Linked DNA regions of Homo sapiens: region 2 is linked to region 1. The links are contacts of gene promoters, found by promoter capture Hi-C in human tissues and cell types (Jung and others, 2019). All regions are on one chromosome and are shown on one strand. Each heading gives the region's core, a stretch centred on a gene start or on the middle of the fragment in contact. The rest is flanking DNA. Distances are from core to core; before and after follow the strand shown.

Region 1 (3,966 bases), core at 1,010-3,509:
AAAAGAAGAAGAGGAAGAAGAAGAAGAAGAAGAAGAAGAAGAAGAAGAAGAAGAAGAAGAAGAAGAAGAAGAAGAAGAAGAAGAAGAAGAGGAGGAGGAGGAGGAGGAGGAGGAGGAAGAGGAGGAGGAGGAAGAAGGATAAGAAAAATATTTATTTAGAACATTTACCTATTTACTAGACAGTATACTCAAGAGTTGACCGTGACACCAGGGTAACCACTGATATTGTATAAAAATGATTTAATTATGTTACGTGAAATAGGCCAAGCACAGAAAGACAAATTGCTAATGGAATGGAACTCATGAAGATAAAGAATAGATTGCTGGTTATCAGAGTCAGAGGAGGGTGCCTGTGGGAAATGAAGAGGTGGATTGACGTGTACAAATATAAGTTAGAGATAAAAATATGACCTAGTATTCAATATAACTGTAGGATGACTATAGTTAACAATGATCTATTAAACATTCCAAAGTAGCTACAAAAGAATAATTCAGATGTTCCTAGCATAAAGAAAAGATAAACTGTGATGGATAATCCAATTACCCTGATTGGATCTTTACAAATTATATGGATGTATCAAAATTTTATATGCGCATCTGCTACATATCAATAAAAAAGGAAAAATGTTTTGAAGGGCACTAATACTGAGGTTAGGAACACTGGTGTCTTAGATTGGGTCCCCACTGGAGCCGACCCAGGAGTATATTTGGGAGGTGGTCCCAAGAAGTGCTGTATGGAACACGAAAAATGCTCCAGGAAAGGGAGGGAAGTGAATACAAGATGAGTTAATGATCAGAATAGCCCTGTAGGTAGCTGGAATTTGGTGTCTCTGAGGACCACTGACATGCTGGTACAACATGCTCCCAACTGGAGGAGAAATAACTAAAGCATGTGTTCACCAACTCTCACTCATTTGTTGAATACTATTCCAAGAGGCTTTAACTCTACAGTCCAGAGCTTGCTCCTTGGCTAGAGAAACTCTTCAAGAAGAGAGTTCCAGGTGCTTGCTCTAAGAAACCACCATTGTATATTAGAATAAAGTGTGCTGAGGAAATAGAGGTGGTGCCCCTGAAATTACATTCTGCAGAGAAGAACAACAGAAAAATTGACTGGTAATTGACCACACTCAAAAAAGAAAAATAATGAGACACAGTATCTGTATATTTCTATGCCTGAAAATTTATTTAAGATTTATTTAGATAAATATTTGTTTAAAATGGAATAGCTCCATATGAGAAATTATGGCAGAGAGCAAATATTTCAATTAAGATAGTTGACAGATTTCAGAGCAAATTACAACTTATGTTCATTTGGTAGAGAGGTAAAATGTGGGGGGAGCATATATTTGGAGGCCAGATTCAATCTAAGAATTGGTTGGAACTGAAGTTTTCCAACTAGCTTCCCATAACTCAGCTCATAGATGAGCTACATCAAGAATGCTGGTTGATGAGAATCTGGTGAGTCCAGATGACAGCCTCAGCAGCAAGAAGCACTAGAGCAGGTTGGGCGGCAGCACATGGTCTGGCAGCAGTTGGGGCGGCAGCAACTGGAGATGCAGCAGGAGAGCCTGCAGCAGCTGAAGCCACAGCAGGAGGAGCTACTGCTGCTAGAGATACTGCAGGAAGGCTGGCAGCAGCTGGAAATGCAATAGCTGGGGTGGCAGCAGGTGGTCCTGTAGCAGGTGGTTTGCCAGCAGATGGGCTAGCAGCATAGAGACTGGCCACAATGGGGCCTGTAGCACCTGGACACACAGCAGCTGGGGCGGCAGCAGGTGGTTCTGCAGCAGGTGGTCTGGCAGCACTGGGGTCTGCAGCAGCTGGACACACAGTAGCTGGGGCAGCAGCAGGTGGGCTGGCAGCACACAGACTGGCAGCACTGGGGCCTGCAGCAGCTGGGGCGGCAGCAGGTGGTCCTACAGCAGGTAGTCTGGCAGCATTGGGGTCTGCAGCAGGTGGGCTGGCAGCACACAGACTGGCAGCACTGGGGTCTGCAGCAGCTGGACACACAGCAGCTGGGGTGGCAGCAGGTGGTCCTGCAGCAGGTGGTCTGGCAGCACTGGGGTCTGCAGCAGCTGGACACACAGCAGCTGGGGCGGCAGCAGGTGGTCCTGCAGCAGGTGGTCTGGCAGTAGCTGGGACGGCAGCAGTTCTCTAGGCCACAGCCCTGGTCAGAGCACACAGAGCCACAACAGGAGTTGACCATGGTGTCAGAGGGTGGAGGTTCTGGGTGGGTTTCCAGGAAGGAGGGTTTGGAAGGCTTGGAAGTCTCCTTGCCCCAGATCCTCTTTTATACCCTGCTCAGGGCTGATGTCATCGGATGCAGCACTCTTTCCTTGTCATTGTTTGTTCTGATGAGCAGGCAATTATCAAATTAGGCAAGTTTGTTTTTCTGCTTAAATTTGTCAACATGGAGAAAAGCATTATTTCCTTCCCCTGGTGTGTTAGGATTCTTCAGGTCAGCTCTTCTTGAACAACCTCTTGTGTGCCTCTTGCTGCAGCTTCCTCCTTGAGCTGCCATGTGACATCTGCCTGCAGGTACCATGTGCTGCAGCCTCATTTTCCTTAATACATTATGTCTGACCTTGGGTGATTTTAATTCTTCTAGGCCCGTAATTTTCTTTTGGTGACTCAGGAGGAGAAAGCTGTGCTTTAATCTCATGGCATGTTTGTTATAGATCAAGTGAGCAATGAAGGTTTGAATGTGAAACAGGTGACCAGTGGCATGAAAACAAATACTATTAGGATATATTCCTTGCCACCTTCCATACAATGAATCATGACCCATTTTCTAGATGTTCTACTGGGGAAAGCAGAATTGTTTTAAGGTGGACATCTAAGTCATGAATTATCGATGCTTCTTTTTCTTGAGAAACAACACTCCAAAACTCAGTTTCAGGGCCTTTAGGGGAAATTGGCTACAGAGATCAGCTATACTAAAAGGTTCAGGTCCCTCCGCTCTCTGCTCTGAGGGGCTGATTTTCCTTCTGACTTTTCCTTCCTGTCTCTCTGGCTTTAACAATCACATTGAGTCATCTCCTCTATTTCTAAGGTTTACTTGCCAACCTAAGGTAAAGGACCCAGTGTCCTTGCTATATATATATAATATATATATATATATATAATATATATTATATATATACATATATATACTATATATAGTATACACACACACGTATATACACACTATATATAAATATACACACTATATATAAATATGCACACTATATATAAATATACACACATACACACACATATATGTGTGTGTATGTATGTGTGTGTATGTGTGCGTGTGTGTGTGTATATATATATATATATATATATATACACACACACACGCACACATACACACACATTATGTCTGACCTTGGGTGATTTTAATTCTTCTAGGCCCATAATTTTCTTTTGATGTATATGTATATATATATATACACTCACACACACACAGGTTTGGGGGAATATATATATTCTGCCAAAGGACCTTAGGAATATATATATATATTATACATATATAGATGGGTAGATAGAGAACCTTATATATAGGTAATATAGGAATATATATATTTACATATTTATGAATATATAATATATATTCTTCATATATGTTTGTATTTAATAGTATGTATAAATATATATATAATATATACAATAACATATTTAGAAATATATATATTTATATATATATGTATTTACCTTTATCTCCTAAGGCCCTTTACCTTAGGAATATTATGCACACACACACACACACACACTCAAACACACACACACACACACTCCCCCAAACCTGGATGTTAAAGAAACCCAAGGAAGAAGGCAGAAACTTCCTGTCTTTGTGCCACCCTCCACTTTGGGATGCTCTTGGGTTAGCAATTTCTGTTTGGACTGGTCTCTCTGAGGATACTATGGACACCCCAACTCTGCTGAGGGTCTTTCCATAAAACATGCTCATCTAAATATTTGGGGGCCATG
Region 2 (3,966 bases), core at 471-2,970, 53 kb before region 1:
GAATCCAGCTGCTGCCGCCCCTGCTGCTGCGTGCGTCCAGTCTGTGGCCGAGTCTCCTGCCACACCACTTGCTATCGCCCAACCTGTGTCATCTCCAGCTGCCCCCGCCCCTTGTGCTGTGCCTCCTCTTGCTGCTGAGCCCACTGCCCTGGCTTATCTCCCCCTTCACCACTGGCCCACAGATGTAGACCCTTCTACTGTGCTGACCATTAGGATACAGGAAGTGGGGTTGATGTCATTCAATAGAATGGAACTCATGTTTCCAATGAGCCCATCACCATTTCACTGACTCTTTGAGAACATTCTGATTCATTTTAAACTCCCTCCCTTGCTTTCTTTTTCTTCCGGTGGTGGCACCAAATGTGAATTAATTTGTAATCCACTAGCTAGAAATTATTCCAATCCTCTAATTTCCTCATTTTCTTTATCACTTTGAGGTACAGATCTTCTTCTCAGTGAGGCAGACATTATCTGCAGGACCAGTTTTGTCACTGAGGTTGCACCCTCAGATCCAGCCGCCCAGTTATATTCTGTGTTTCTCCTAGTGTGAATTTCTTATGCTTTGTTGCATCTCTGCTTTTTAATAAAATTTCTGTACATAAGAATTCATTGGTATCATTCTCTATTGCTTTCATAATTATTTTACTGATTCCCTGACAATTATATTTTACACAAAGACGCAGGAAAAGCAACCCGTGTTGAAATCACTTTGAAAATACATGCTATATCGAATATAGATAATTTACGGTATTGGAATAGAAGTGCTGTGTGTATATGTGTGTGTATGTGTGTGTGTGTGTGTGCACATGTGTCTTAATATCCTAAATTAAGACAGTTTTAATTCATACCTTAGCTCTTGAAACACATTTTATCTTTAACACATTATATCTCATAATACTATCGTCCCTGTTTTGACAAAAAAGATAAAACCAAATTTCTGAAAATTAGACACCAATGAAAGAAGGGAAATCTTCTATAAAGAATTTCATGTACTGAATTCATTTTACTCAATAACAACATTTTGGAATTTATAATCAAAAAGTGGGCTTTATTTCCCAGTGAGTTCTGCTGAGACAAAAAAGCATATTGAGCTGTAGTTCATCTGGATAGCATGGTATATTGCTGACTGTGGTCTCTACGGGTTTACATTATAATTTAAACAACTCCACACTTAACATTTTAATATATATAAACCCAGAAAGGATGAAAATTTCAAGGCTCGCTTTTCTTTTTAAGAATTATTTTATTGGAATTAGTTCAGTCTTGAGTAGGTCGCAGCTGGGGTGCATATCCTAATTAGAATTTCCAAGAGAGGTGCCTTCATTTGAATCTGAAAGAATATGGTAAGTGACTATAACTTGGCATTCTAGTAGGAGCACCTGCTCTTGATGTTTTTACTTTTATTTGACTATTATCAGCTCTGAAATGGCCTTAAGCTATTGAGCCAATCAAGTTTAAGATGATTTGTTCAGATATGTTCAAATATGAAAAATAAGCTTCATATTTTTTCAGATGCCTTAAGAAAAATGTTGTCCAGATCTCAGTCATAGAGTTATGATGCCTTCTTAAACATGAGGCAGGATAAATAAGGTTAGGAGGCTGTGAAAGTAAAATAAATATTGGGGCCCCCAAATCACTAAGCTAAAGGGAAAAGGCAAACTCGGAACTGCTTAGGACAAACTTGCCTCTCATTCTATTCAAAGTCACCCCTCTGCTCACTGAGATAAATGCACTGATTGCCTCCTTGGGAAAGGCTAATCAGAAACTCAAAAGAAGGCAACCATTTGTCTCTTATATACCTATGATCTGGAAGCCCCCTCCCAGCTTCGAGTTGTCCCGCCTTTGCTTCGAGTTGTCTTGCCTTTTCTGGACCAAATCCGTGTTCATCTTACATATGTTGATTGATATCTCATGTCTCCCTAAAATGTATAAAACAAAAGTGTTATCTGACCACCTTACACACATGTCATCAGGACTTCCTGAGGCTGTGTCACCGGAGCATCCTCAACCTTAGCAAAATAAACTTTCTCAATTAACTGAGACCTGTCTCAGATTTTCTGGGTTAACATTTTGGTAACTGTGAAAGGATTCTGAGTGGAGATGCCCTTGACCTTTGACGAATATCCTGTTGGTGCCTGGTAATAGCATGAGCTAACTTTATGGCTCAAATCAATAGGACAATTTGCTGAGGTCTGGGAGCACCCTCCCCAAAGAATCCCTGATCTCCCCAAATTTGGTGAAGAACTAAAGTTCATTTTGCTGTACAACTGCCCCACCTATTTTTGTTTTTGGAGTTTTACTTGCTTACTTGCCTTCCTTATAAGGAAGGCAAGATTTACTTTTACTTCCTTTACAAGGAAGGCAAGATTTCCTGCTTCCATGATGATGAAAGGCATGTAGAGTTTGAGCTCACTCCCAGCAGGGAAGACCAGTTTGAGTTTTTTTCCTGCTTCTAGGGTGGTAGAAAGCAGCCTTCAGCCTGAGACCCATCCCTAGGTAAGTAGCTGAACTGGGGCTTTGTCTGGGCTAAAGTTTAACAACCAGCTAGCTGCTCTTAATTTCTCCTTATCATTAGAGTGCTTGGTAATCCTATGGTTGGAGATTTTGTTGTTTGTTTTGGTCTTTCTCCCATCAGACTTGACCAACTCTACCTGACTTGGTCAAATCCAAGTGAGAATTCAAAATTACGGGTAACAAAACCTCTCTAATTTGGCTAAAATTCATTGCAGCTGCAAAAGAAGAAAACAAACAAAAAGAACCAAAAACCCATGCACTTGGTTTCTGTGTTTGCTTCCTGTCTTAAAACACGAATGTTCTTTCGTTTACTTTTCTTGCACCATATACCTCCTCCCCCTTTGCCATATGCAGTACCAAAAAGTCTAGAGAAGGCTTCTAATGACTTGAACCCCCTTAAAGAATTCAGAACAAAGGTTGCCACTCACCCCTTTTGGGGTGTTTTGTTTTCTTTGTGGAGTTTCAAGAGTCATGGGTAGATTCTTCTTAACTCTAAACCTCTATTTTCCTGTATTGCATGACCTGACCTCTTTGGCTTTGACCTTGTTGTGTATAGTGGTAGATGAGAGCTACAAAGTTAAGGGGTGGCTGAGCAAGGTTTACAAAAAGTGGTCTTGGCTGTTGTTTTGTTTTCCTTCTAGGAATTTGTCGTTTAAAGATCCTAATTCTAGTTCACAAATGCATTCTAAAGGATCTTCTCTGTTGCTTTTTCTCCCCAAATTAAGCTCAATTCAGCTTGTCTGTGTGCATTTGCATGAGGAACTGAACTGTTGTTTTCAGTGGTGACCCACTGTGGAGTCCTGCCCACAAATGGCACATATTGATCCACCACAGAAAACCTCTAGGCCTCAGCTCAGTTCCTCTTTTTAAGAAGAAAACTGGGAAACAAATAATCTAAGAATGAGGAGAAAGCAAAGAGAATGATTCCCTTTCAAGCACTCCATAGGTTTTATGGCACCTGTACTTGCCAGAGTTTAAGTAAAATGGAAGTAATATGGTCTTTGTGCATATTTACATTAAGAAAGAAAGGGCCCATGTAAATTAGTTCAACCATTGTGGAAGACAGTATGGTGATTCCTCAAGGATCTAGAATCAGAAATACCATTTGATCCAGCAATCCCATTACTTGTTATATACCCAAAGGAATACAAATCATTCTACTATAAAGACACAGGCACATGTATGTTTATTGCAGCACTATTTACAAGAGCAAAGACATGGAACTAACCCAAACGCCCATCAATTATAGACTTGATAAAGAAAATGTGGTACATATACACCATGGAATACGATGCAGCCATAAAACGGAGTGAGATCATGTCCTTTGTAGGGACATGGATGAAGCTGGAAACCATCATCCTCAGCAAACTAACACAGAAACAGAATACCAAATACAACATGTTCTCACTCATATATGGGAGTTGAACTTTGAGAACACATGGACACAGAGAG

What was found. The method cuts DNA at HindIII sites, captures the fragments that hold promoters and counts their contacts. A contact is called where the count stands out against the background at its distance.
Region 2: a fragment that was not itself captured here is called in contact with the fragment with the promoter of KRTAP4-4 in region 1 in 1 of the 25 tissues and cell types used here (small bowel).

Annotation. Positions count from the first base shown.
Region 1 is chr17:41,158,489-41,162,454 of GRCh38, forward strand. It overlaps KRTAP4-4 (keratin associated protein 4-4), which reads right to left and starts at 2,260. Exons shown (of 1, transcript NM_032524.2): 1 at 1,161-2,260. The coding sequence starts at 2,203. The coding sequence ends at 1,703. The HindIII fragment of the contact is 15,846 bases long and covers 1-3,966 here.
Region 2 is chr17:41,105,884-41,109,849 of GRCh38, forward strand. KRTAP4-9 (keratin associated protein 4-9) reads left to right here. Exons shown (of 1, transcript NM_001146041.1): 1 at 1-605. The coding sequence ends at 138. LOC124904002 (a long non-coding RNA gene) reads left to right here and starts at 2,349. Exons shown (of 2, transcript XR_007065754.1): 1 at 2,349-2,496. The HindIII fragment of the contact is 3,699 bases long and covers 1-3,570 here.